2 separate regions of the Homo sapiens genome follow, and region 2 is linked to region 1. Evidence: promoter capture Hi-C in 16 types of primary human blood cells and fetal thymus (Javierre and others, 2016). All regions are on one chromosome and are shown on one strand. The core of a region is centred on a gene start or on the middle of the fragment in contact, and the rest is flanking DNA. Distances in the headings are between cores, read along the strand shown.

What was found. Contacts are between HindIII fragments. The CHiCAGO score rates a contact against its expected background, and 5 or more counts as called.
Region 2: a contact is called between a fragment that was not itself captured here and the fragment with the promoter of GPR107 in region 1, in 8 of 17 cell types (activated CD4 T cells, total CD8 T cells, total B cells and 5 more). The highest score is 8.1, in activated CD4 T cells.

The regions. Positions count from the first base shown.
Region 1 is chr9:130,051,716-130,056,317 of GRCh38, forward strand. GPR107 (G protein-coupled receptor 107) reads left to right here and starts at 2,191. Exons shown (of 18, transcript NM_020960.5): 1 at 2,191-2,358. The coding sequence starts at 2,218. It also overlaps a transcript of FNBP1 not described here. RefSeq lists a silencer at 2,179-2,488. The HindIII fragment of the contact is 2,204 bases long and covers 159-2,362 here.
Region 2 is chr9:129,959,492-129,963,839 of GRCh38, forward strand. All of the region lies in intron 4 of FNBP1 (formin binding protein 1), which reads right to left. Among named protein-coding and RNA genes, the nearest start is that of FNBP1, 82 kb to the right of the region's middle. The HindIII fragment of the contact is 5,643 bases long and covers 1-4,348 here.

The DNA of each region.
Region 1 (4,602 bases), core at 941-3,440:
GCATGAGAATCCCTTGAACCTGGGAGGTGGAGACTACAGTGAACAGATGTCACACCACTGCACTCAGTCCTGGGCAACAGTGTCTCTGTCTCAAAAAAAAAAGGAGAGAAAATAGAAAAATAAAATGTACTTGACTAAGAGAGTAAGGCTAAAAGCCAAGCTTAGGAGATCAGTCTTTCCAGCCCCTGCAGGCTTTTTCAGTCAATACCTTAAAGTGTAATGTCCCTTTGAAAATGTTGCCAGGAGAAGCAGGCATAACTTGTTCTGTTACTCAGCCTGTTTGTTTCCAGTTACAGCATCATGATTATGCAAATAATCTTTTCTTGAAACTATGAAATCACATGGCTAAATGTAATTGTCAAGGCAGCAGTTTTCTAGAATTTAAGAAGTAACTGTAGAGAAAATGCTCAACAATGTCTTTGTAGTCAGTTTTCCCTCATTCTTATTCCTCTCAATTCCAAAATAATGACTGGCACAATACAGCTTTCAAATATGTGAAAGAAGAAGATATCCTCTTAAACCCCTGGACAGACAGCACTGGTATGACCCTATGTAGGTCACATGATAATACCCAAGTATAGAGAAGCAAGGAATGCTATGAACCCAGTTTTAAGCCCTTATAAAACTGTTGTCCAGAAACTAAGACAAAAGTCTCCTATTTAAAACTATTTTAATGTTTCATCACTATTGTATTATAAAATGGGATTAAGATTCTTACCTGATTTTTTTTTTATTGAGACAGAGTCTCACTCTGTCACCCAGGCTGGAGTGCAGTGGCATGATCTTGGCTTACTGAAACCTCTGCCTCCCAGGTTCAAGTGCTTCTCCTGCCTCAGCCTCCCCAGTAGCTGGGACTACAGGCGCGCGGCCGTGATGCCCCGCTAATTTTTGTATTTTTAGTAGAGACGAGGTTTTGCCATGTTGCCCAGGCTGGTCCCGAACAACTGACTTTCAAGTGATCCGCCCGCCTCGGCGTTCCAAAGTGCTGGGATTCAGGCGCGAATCACCACCCTGCCAGGCCTCATTTCGTTTTTAGTACAGTATTATATTCAAATTTAAAACCAGAGATTTTCAAAGATGCCACTTAACTTTAAAAGATAAAAAGTACTCCAAAGCAGGTTGGGCGCAGTGACTCACGCCTGTAATCCCAGCACTTTGGGAGGCCGAGGCGGGAGGATAACTTGAGGTCAGGAGTTCGAGACCAGCCTGGCCAACATGGGAGAAACCCCGTGTCTACTAAAAATACAAAAATTAGCCGGGCGTGGTGGCGCAGGCCTGTAATTCTAGTTACTCCAGAGGCTGAGGCAGGAGAATCGCTTGAACCCAGAAGGCGGAGGTTGCAGTGAGCTGAGATCGTGCCATTGCACTCCAGCCTGGGTGACAAGAGCTAGACTCCGTCTCAAAAAAAAGAAGTTCCTATAATTTCTGAAAGAAGCAAAGAAAGTTTCCATACAGAATTAAGAGAAAAATGTTAAGACCCAGACTTGGGGTTGGATGAAATAGCATGAGGCAACAGAACACAGGAGTTAAGAGCTTCCGTGTGATTCCCAGCTCAACCTGGAGCAAATGACTTATTTCTCAGAGCCTCAGTTTGCTTACCTGTAAAGTAGGAATAATGATAATACGTACCTCCTAGCTCATCAAATTGTTCCAAAAATTAAATACAACAAAAGGCCTAACAAATTGCCTCATAAGGGCTCAATCAATCGTATTATTGCAACCATTTCGCTTGTATTTGAGTGTGAAGCGCCTAGAAAACCACAGGACCCCTACGGCGAGCCGGGAATTTTTAGATATTTTCCTCCGAGTCAACGCTCAGTGAAATCAGTTCAATCAGTGGCCCGACACCGTGCGGCTGACACAGCTTATCCCCCGACCCTGAGATCAGGGGTCCCCGGAGCCCAAGGTCGCTTCCAAAGCTCAGCGAGGCGGAGGTGCGGCCCGGGCTGGTCTGGTTCGGCCACCGTTGTTATGGCAACCGCCAATAGGTTGGCTTCATCTCTAACTGAAAGTCTGCACAGGAGCGGCCGATCGAAGGGCCCCGAGGTGGGCAGCACAGGCTCCTCGACGACTTCCTAGGTCGCAATCTCCAGGAAAACGACCACAGGGTCAGCGGAGCTAGCCGCCGAGCCCCGCTCCCCGGGCCCTTCCGGCGGCTGCGCCCTTTCACCCCGGACGTGGGCGGGAGAGGAAGCGGCTGGTGATGCTGGAACAAACATGGCCGCTCTGGCGCCCGTCGGCTCCCCCGCCTCCCGCGGTCCTAGGCTGGCCGCGGGCCTCCGGCTGCTCCCAATGCTGGGTTTGCTGCAGTTGCTGGCCGAGCCTGGCCTGGGCCGCGTCCATCACCTGGCACTCAAGGTAAAGCTTGGCAAGGCCGGGCCGGGGGGCGGAGGCCGAGGCCACTCCCCGGGTTTTAGGGCAACTTTGGCCCATTGGGGACCTCTGAGCCACTGGACCACCTCTTTGCCCCTGGCTGCGGCCTTTCACTGACAGGTGGCGGGGTCTGTGGGGAAGGCGGGTCTGGGCGGCGCTGGGGTCTTCGGGCTGACCGGCACGGGGCGGGAAGACTCGAGCTGAGGGAGGGGAAGGGGCTGAACTGTGGCGTTGCCCCCACGGACTCGGGAGGCTGCTCTTAAATCCCTGCTGGCTTCCCTGAATTCCTCACTCAGGGCAGCCCGATCGCCTTTCTTCTTTCTCCCCTCCAGCTTTTATGCTGGCTTTCCTTGTCCGCGGTCTCCGCTCTTCTGTGCCCTTGTACTGTACCGGCGGTTTGAAGGTACTTGGAACCTTAGCCTCAGTTTCCCATTTCGGTTTAGGGCGCTCTCTGGAGCGAGACTCTAGAGAAGGAATTTCAAATCTTGCTTAAAACACGTGACTGAGAATGTAAAGCCAGCATTAAGGTGTGTCTCTAATCAAAGGGCCTGCTTTTTCTTCCTCTATCCAGCCATTGTCTAGGGAAGAGAGATTTTTGATAAACCTAGAATGATACTCTGGATCTTGCTTTGTAACTAGCAGAGAAAAGACCTCTAAGGCTGAAACGCACCCTAAGGTGGTTCAGCAGTTTACTATATCTGGGAAATTGTCCAGGTGCTGTGGCTCATGCCTGTAATCCCAACACTGGGAGGCCTATGCAGGAGGATTGTTTGAGCCCAGGAGTTCGAGACCAGCCTAGTCAACGTGCTAAGGACCCCCTCCCCAAACCTGTCTCTACAAAAAATTAAAAATTAACCAGGTGTGGTGGCAAACGCCTGCAGCTTCTGGGGAGGCTGAGGCTGGAGGATCACTTGAGCCTAGGAGGTTGAGACTGCAGTGAGCCGTGATTACTCATTGCATTCCAGCCTGAGGAACAGAGCAAGACCCTTTCTCAAAACATATAAACAAAATTAGAGACATAGAAAAGTAAATTGTTATGACCCAAACTCTTGTACATTATTTTCATACCATACAGTCTTCTAAGAAGTGGAACTGTAGGCGGGGCGCGGTGGCTCACGCCTGTAATCCTAGCACTTTGGGAGGCCGAGGCAGGCAGATCACGAGGTGAGGAGATCGAGACCATCCTGGCTAGCACGGTGAAACCCTATCTCTACTAAAAATAAAAAAAAAATTAGCCAGGCGTGGTGGCAGGCGCCTGCAGTCCCAGCTACTCGGGAGGCTAAGGCAGGAGAATGGCGTGAACCTGGGAGGCGCTTGTAGTCCCAGCTACTCGGGAGACTGAGGCAGGAGAATGGCGTGAACCCGGGAGGCGGAGCTTGCAGTGAGCCAAGATCCCGCCACTGCACTCCAGCCTGGGCAACAGCGCGAGACTCCGTCTCAAAAAAAAAAAAAAAAAGAAGTGGAACTGTAGAAAGTTTGTCTTGTAAAAACACATTGTTTTAGCAAACTATGAAGCATTGTATTTTGTTAATGTAGAATTTAAAGAATACAGAATGAAATTAAAAGCCTGGCTTGACTGGGCACGGTGGCTCACACCTATAATCCTAGCACTTTGGGAGGCCGAGGTGGGCGGATCACCTGAGGTCAGGAGTTCGAGACCAGCCTGGCCAACATGGCAAAACCCCTCTCTACTAAAAATACAAATATTAGACGGGCATGGTGGCACATGCCTGTAGTCCCAGCTACTTGGGAGGCTGAGACAGGATAATTGCTTGAACCCGGGAGGCTGAGATTGCAGTGAGCAGAGATCATTGTGCCACTGCACTCCAGTCGGGGCGAAAGAACTATACTCTGTCTCAAATAAATAAATAAATAAATAAATAAATGCAAGCCTGACTGGATCCATACAACCTTACTTTTTGGTAACAACTTTTGTTGTTTGTAGGTAAAAATTATCCTGATTAAAATGGTTCAATCACAGGGGTGGGGGTGGGGCAAGTGAATTTTGACTCTTTGAGAATCTGTTGAGAGCTATAGAACCTCTCTCCAGAAAAGTGCATGTAGAAATGTAGACAAAACTTGGCCGGGCACGGTGGCTCACGCCTGTAATCCCAGCACTTTCAGAGGCTGAGGTGGGTGGATCACTTGAGGTCAGGAGTTTGAGACCAGCCTGGCCAACATTGTGAAATCACATCTCTACTAAAAATACAAAAATTAGCCAGGCGTGGT
Region 2 (4,348 bases), core at 1,104-3,603, 92 kb before region 1:
GGCAGGAGAATTGCTTGAACCTGGGAGGCAGAGGTTGCAGTGAGCTGAGATCGTGCTAATGCACTCCAGCTCTGGGCAACAGAGCAAGACTCGGTCTCAAAAAATAAAAAAATAAAATAAAATTTGAAGACATATATGCCACTTGGAAAAACGACAGGAATGTTTTAAGACAGCGATCGCTTCATCTTTTTTAACTGCTTTGAGATATGATTCAGATATGATCTGATTTACCATTTAAACTAAGCAATTCACAAAACTGTACAACCATCACCACGACCAATTTTAGAATATTTTTATCACCCCTAAAAGAAACCTGTACCCACTAGCCGTCACCCTCCATCTTCCTCAGCCCTAGGGAGCCTGTTTCTGTCTGTGGATTTGTTTATTCTGGCTGTTTCCTATGAATGGAGACATGGTCTGAGGCCTTTGGTAACTGGGATGTGTTCATTATCTCCTCATATCCACTTCGCATGATTTCAAGGTCGACATTGTCACATGTATCAGTACTCCATTCTTTTTTATTGCCAAATGATTATTCCATCATGTGGCTATCCCACATTTTGTTTATCCATTCAACAGTTGATAGACATCAGAGTTGTTTCTAGGTTTGGGCTATTATGAAAAATGCGGCCAGGCCAGCACTTTGGGAGGCAGAGGTGGGCGGATCACGAGGTCAGGAGTTTGAGACTAGCCTGGCCAACATGGTGAAACCCTGTCTCTACTAAAAATACAAAAACTGGCCGGGCGTGGTGGCGTGGACCTGTAATCTCAGCTACTCCGGAGGCTTAGGCAGGATAATTGCTTAAAACCTAGGGGGCTGGAGGTTGCACTGCACTGAGCCGAGATCGCGCTGCTGTACTCCAGCCTGGGTGACAGATCAAGACTCCATCTCAAAAAAAAAAAAAAAAAAAAGAAAAAGAAAAAGAAAAAGAAAAAGAAAATTGCTGCTATAAACACTTGAGTAAGAGTTTTGAGTGTTTTGTGTGCATGGCTGTTTTCATTATTAGATTATTTTAAATATAAAGATAAATTTCCCTCCTGGCCATCTGCAAAGGCCCTGAGGCAGGCTCTGGTGTGGTGTTAACCTGGCGGCCAGATCTGGAGGAGCCTCGGGGAGAATATCATATGAGGTCAGAGAAGAAAGAGGGAGTTGTATAGGGTCTTGTAGGCTTTTTTGCCTGAATGAACCAGAGTCGATGAGTAACTCTAAGATGTTGTGAAGGAAAGATTTCAGATGGTGGGAGGCTTTTGTAACAATCCTGGAGATTACTGCAACTTGGACAGGTTGTAGGTAGCGAGCAGTGCAGGTGGTGAGAGGGGTCAGGTTTTGGGCACCTTTTGATCACCCAAACTTCCAGGATTTTCTGGGAGATAAGATGAGATGTGCAATAATGAGCTGCCCAGGGTGACTCCGAGGTTGTCAGTCTGAGCTTTAGGAGAAGGAAGACTGAGAGAAGTGGGTCTGAGGAGGAAGATCATACACGTAGTTTCACATGTGTTAAGGCTGATATTTCTATGAGACTCCCAAGTAGAGAGACTAGCCGAGCGTGGTGGCTCATGCCTGTAATCCCATCACTTTGGGAGGCCAAGGTGGGCGAACCACCAAAGGTCAGGAGTTCTAGACCAGCCTGGGCAACATGGTGAAACCCCGTCTCTACTAAAAATACAAAAAGTAGCCAGGCATGGTGGCGCATGCCTGTAATCCCAGCTACTCGGGAGGCTGAGGCAGGAGAATCACTTGAACTGGGAGGCGGAGGTTGCGGTGAGCCGAGATAGTACCATTGTACTCCAGCCTGGGTGACAGATAGAGACTCCATCTCAAAAAAACCCCCGAAAAACAAACAAACAAACAAGTAGAGAGACTAATATGTACTTGGACTTGTGGATCTGAGCTTAGGGAGCGGTCTGTACTAAAGACCAGTTTGGGAGTCTTCAGTATAAAGTGGATAGTTAAAGCCAGGAGACCAAAGAAGACAAAGATCCCAAGGAAGGAAGTGCTAGAAATATGCAGAAATGTTAAGAGAATGGTGTCTTTTTTTTGTTCAGTGACCTAAAATCACCAGTTCCCTAAATCCTTTATATATTTTATTTTTTGAGACGGAGTCTTGTTCCGTTGCCCAGGCTGGAGGACAGTGGCGTGATCTCGGTTCACTGAGACCTCTGCCTCCCTGTGACCTCTGCCTCCCGGGTTCAAGTGATTCTCCTGCCTCAGCCTCCCTGGTAGCTGGGAATACAGGTGCGACCCACCACGCCCAGCTAATTTTTTGTATTTTTAGTAGAGACAGGGTTTCACCATGTTGGCCAGGCTGGTCTCGAACTCCCGGCCTCAAGTGATCCGCTTGCCTCGGCCTCCCAAAGTGCTGGGATTACAGGCGTGAGCCACCGTGCCCGGCCCCTAAATCTTTTAGTATCCTTCCACACTGTACCATCGCTGACTTGGTCAATGTCCTGCAAATTTCCCAGGTGCATTCTCCACCCTGTCTGGGTCCCCAGAGACTGACATGCAGGGATCTCATGAACCCTTGCCCTCTGGTTCTGATGAGATTTGCCACAAGGATGTTCTGAGTGATCAGAGGGCAGGAAACTGTACCTGCAGCTTCTCCTCACTGAGATGATACAGGTTGGCTGGGTCCTTGGACCAAAGGGCACAGCTCCAGTCAGGCAGTGCCCCGCATGCAGCTAACCTCAGAAGTTCCTCATCTGTGAAATTCCTGGAAGGCTCCTCCAGCCCTGTGAGGCCTGGGGGCAACATCAGCTCCCCACTGTGACTTGCTCCAGGGTACTGAACCATCCTCACTGCTTTTCCTAAACTCTATCCGCCACGTTGTAAATGCTCCTTTTAATAACCGACCTTCCTTCAATTACTGAGTTTGAATGTGCTGTCTGTTTTCTGGCTCACAAGGTAAGCATTGGTGTTAGGGGTGCACTGCAGAGAAGGTCAGGTGAAGGAAGGATAAAAACAAAGAGGTCCACTAGGTAGAGCCTCGGAGCTTTTCCCGTACCTCGTCAGAACCTAGGATTTAGCGGAGTCAGAAAATGGAGCTGACAACTGGAAAGGCTGGGAAGGCAGAGACAACATCAGATTTAGAACAGTGCTCCTTTATAAGGGAATGTTTTCTTGTCTCTCTTTTGAGGTCGAGTTTCACTGTTTTAAGCGCCTCTTTGCAGTCAGTTTTATCTATCCAGCAATTTTTTGGTCTCTGCAAACCCAGGGGGAGCCCCTTGGGGCTTCGTTTTTCAGCTCTTGTAATGGACATAAGGATAGAACAGAAAAGAAGGGATCCAGGCTGTGGGAGAATTAAGAAGTAGAGCCAAGGACAGGGTTAGGGAAACTCTGGACCTTAGTGGAGAACGTATAGAAAATACAAGCGGGTTTTCTGAAAGCCACGCTTTCAGGGAGGACCCCCCAGAGACCAGAGCGTCAATTTCAAACCATCTGGGCTCAACTGTGCCCTTTTTGGAAGGCACCTCTGGTCCTGAAAGTCTTTATCGGGTGACTTCTCTGCGAAGAGAAAGATCCCATTTCCTAAGCCGGAGCACCGAGTTACGCAGTTTGCTGAAGAGATGCAGCCGCTCCCAAAAGTTTTACTTTGAGATTCAAAGACAGGAACAAAAAGAGAAAACCCCAGCACCAATTCAGAGCTGTACTCGAGGTTGACGATCTATCTCTCCAGCACCTCTGAAAGTGAATGTTTTAACAAAGTGAAAGCTCCCTCCAGCTTGGGGCAATGCTGTGGGTGGAGACAGGAAATGCACAGAAGCCCAGCAGACAATGACAGGCATTGCCTGGGACATGTCACCTGACTTTCATATAAAATAAATCTCTGAAGACAAGAGTCTTAAAAAAAAAAGTCTTATTTTAAAAACACGAGGGATGATTTTGATTGAAAAATCCATAGAGTGGTTCCCTTGCCACTCCTTAGTGTAAATATATAATAAATATGCATTTGTGTTTAAGGCACGGTGTGCACCTTGAATTTACTGGTAAGTTATCTCTCATGAAGACTGCTCAGCCACACCTCTCCCCACATTATTAAACCACTACCTGAAAACTGCAATTATCATCGTACCATTTCATGGGGCTTAGGAGATTGTGGGTGATGCCCATCTTCCTTCCTTCCAGCCTTTTTTTTTTTTTTTTTTAAAAAAACAAGTCTCTGTCACCCATGCTGGAGTGCAGTGGCACAATCTCGGCTCACTGCAACTTCCGCCTCCTGGGTTCAAGCAATTCTCCTGCCTCAGCCTCCTGAGTAGCTGGGACTACAGGCATGCGCCACCACGCCCGGCTAATTTTTGTGTTTTTAGTAGAGACAGGGTTTCACCATGTTGGCCAGGCTATCCTCGAACC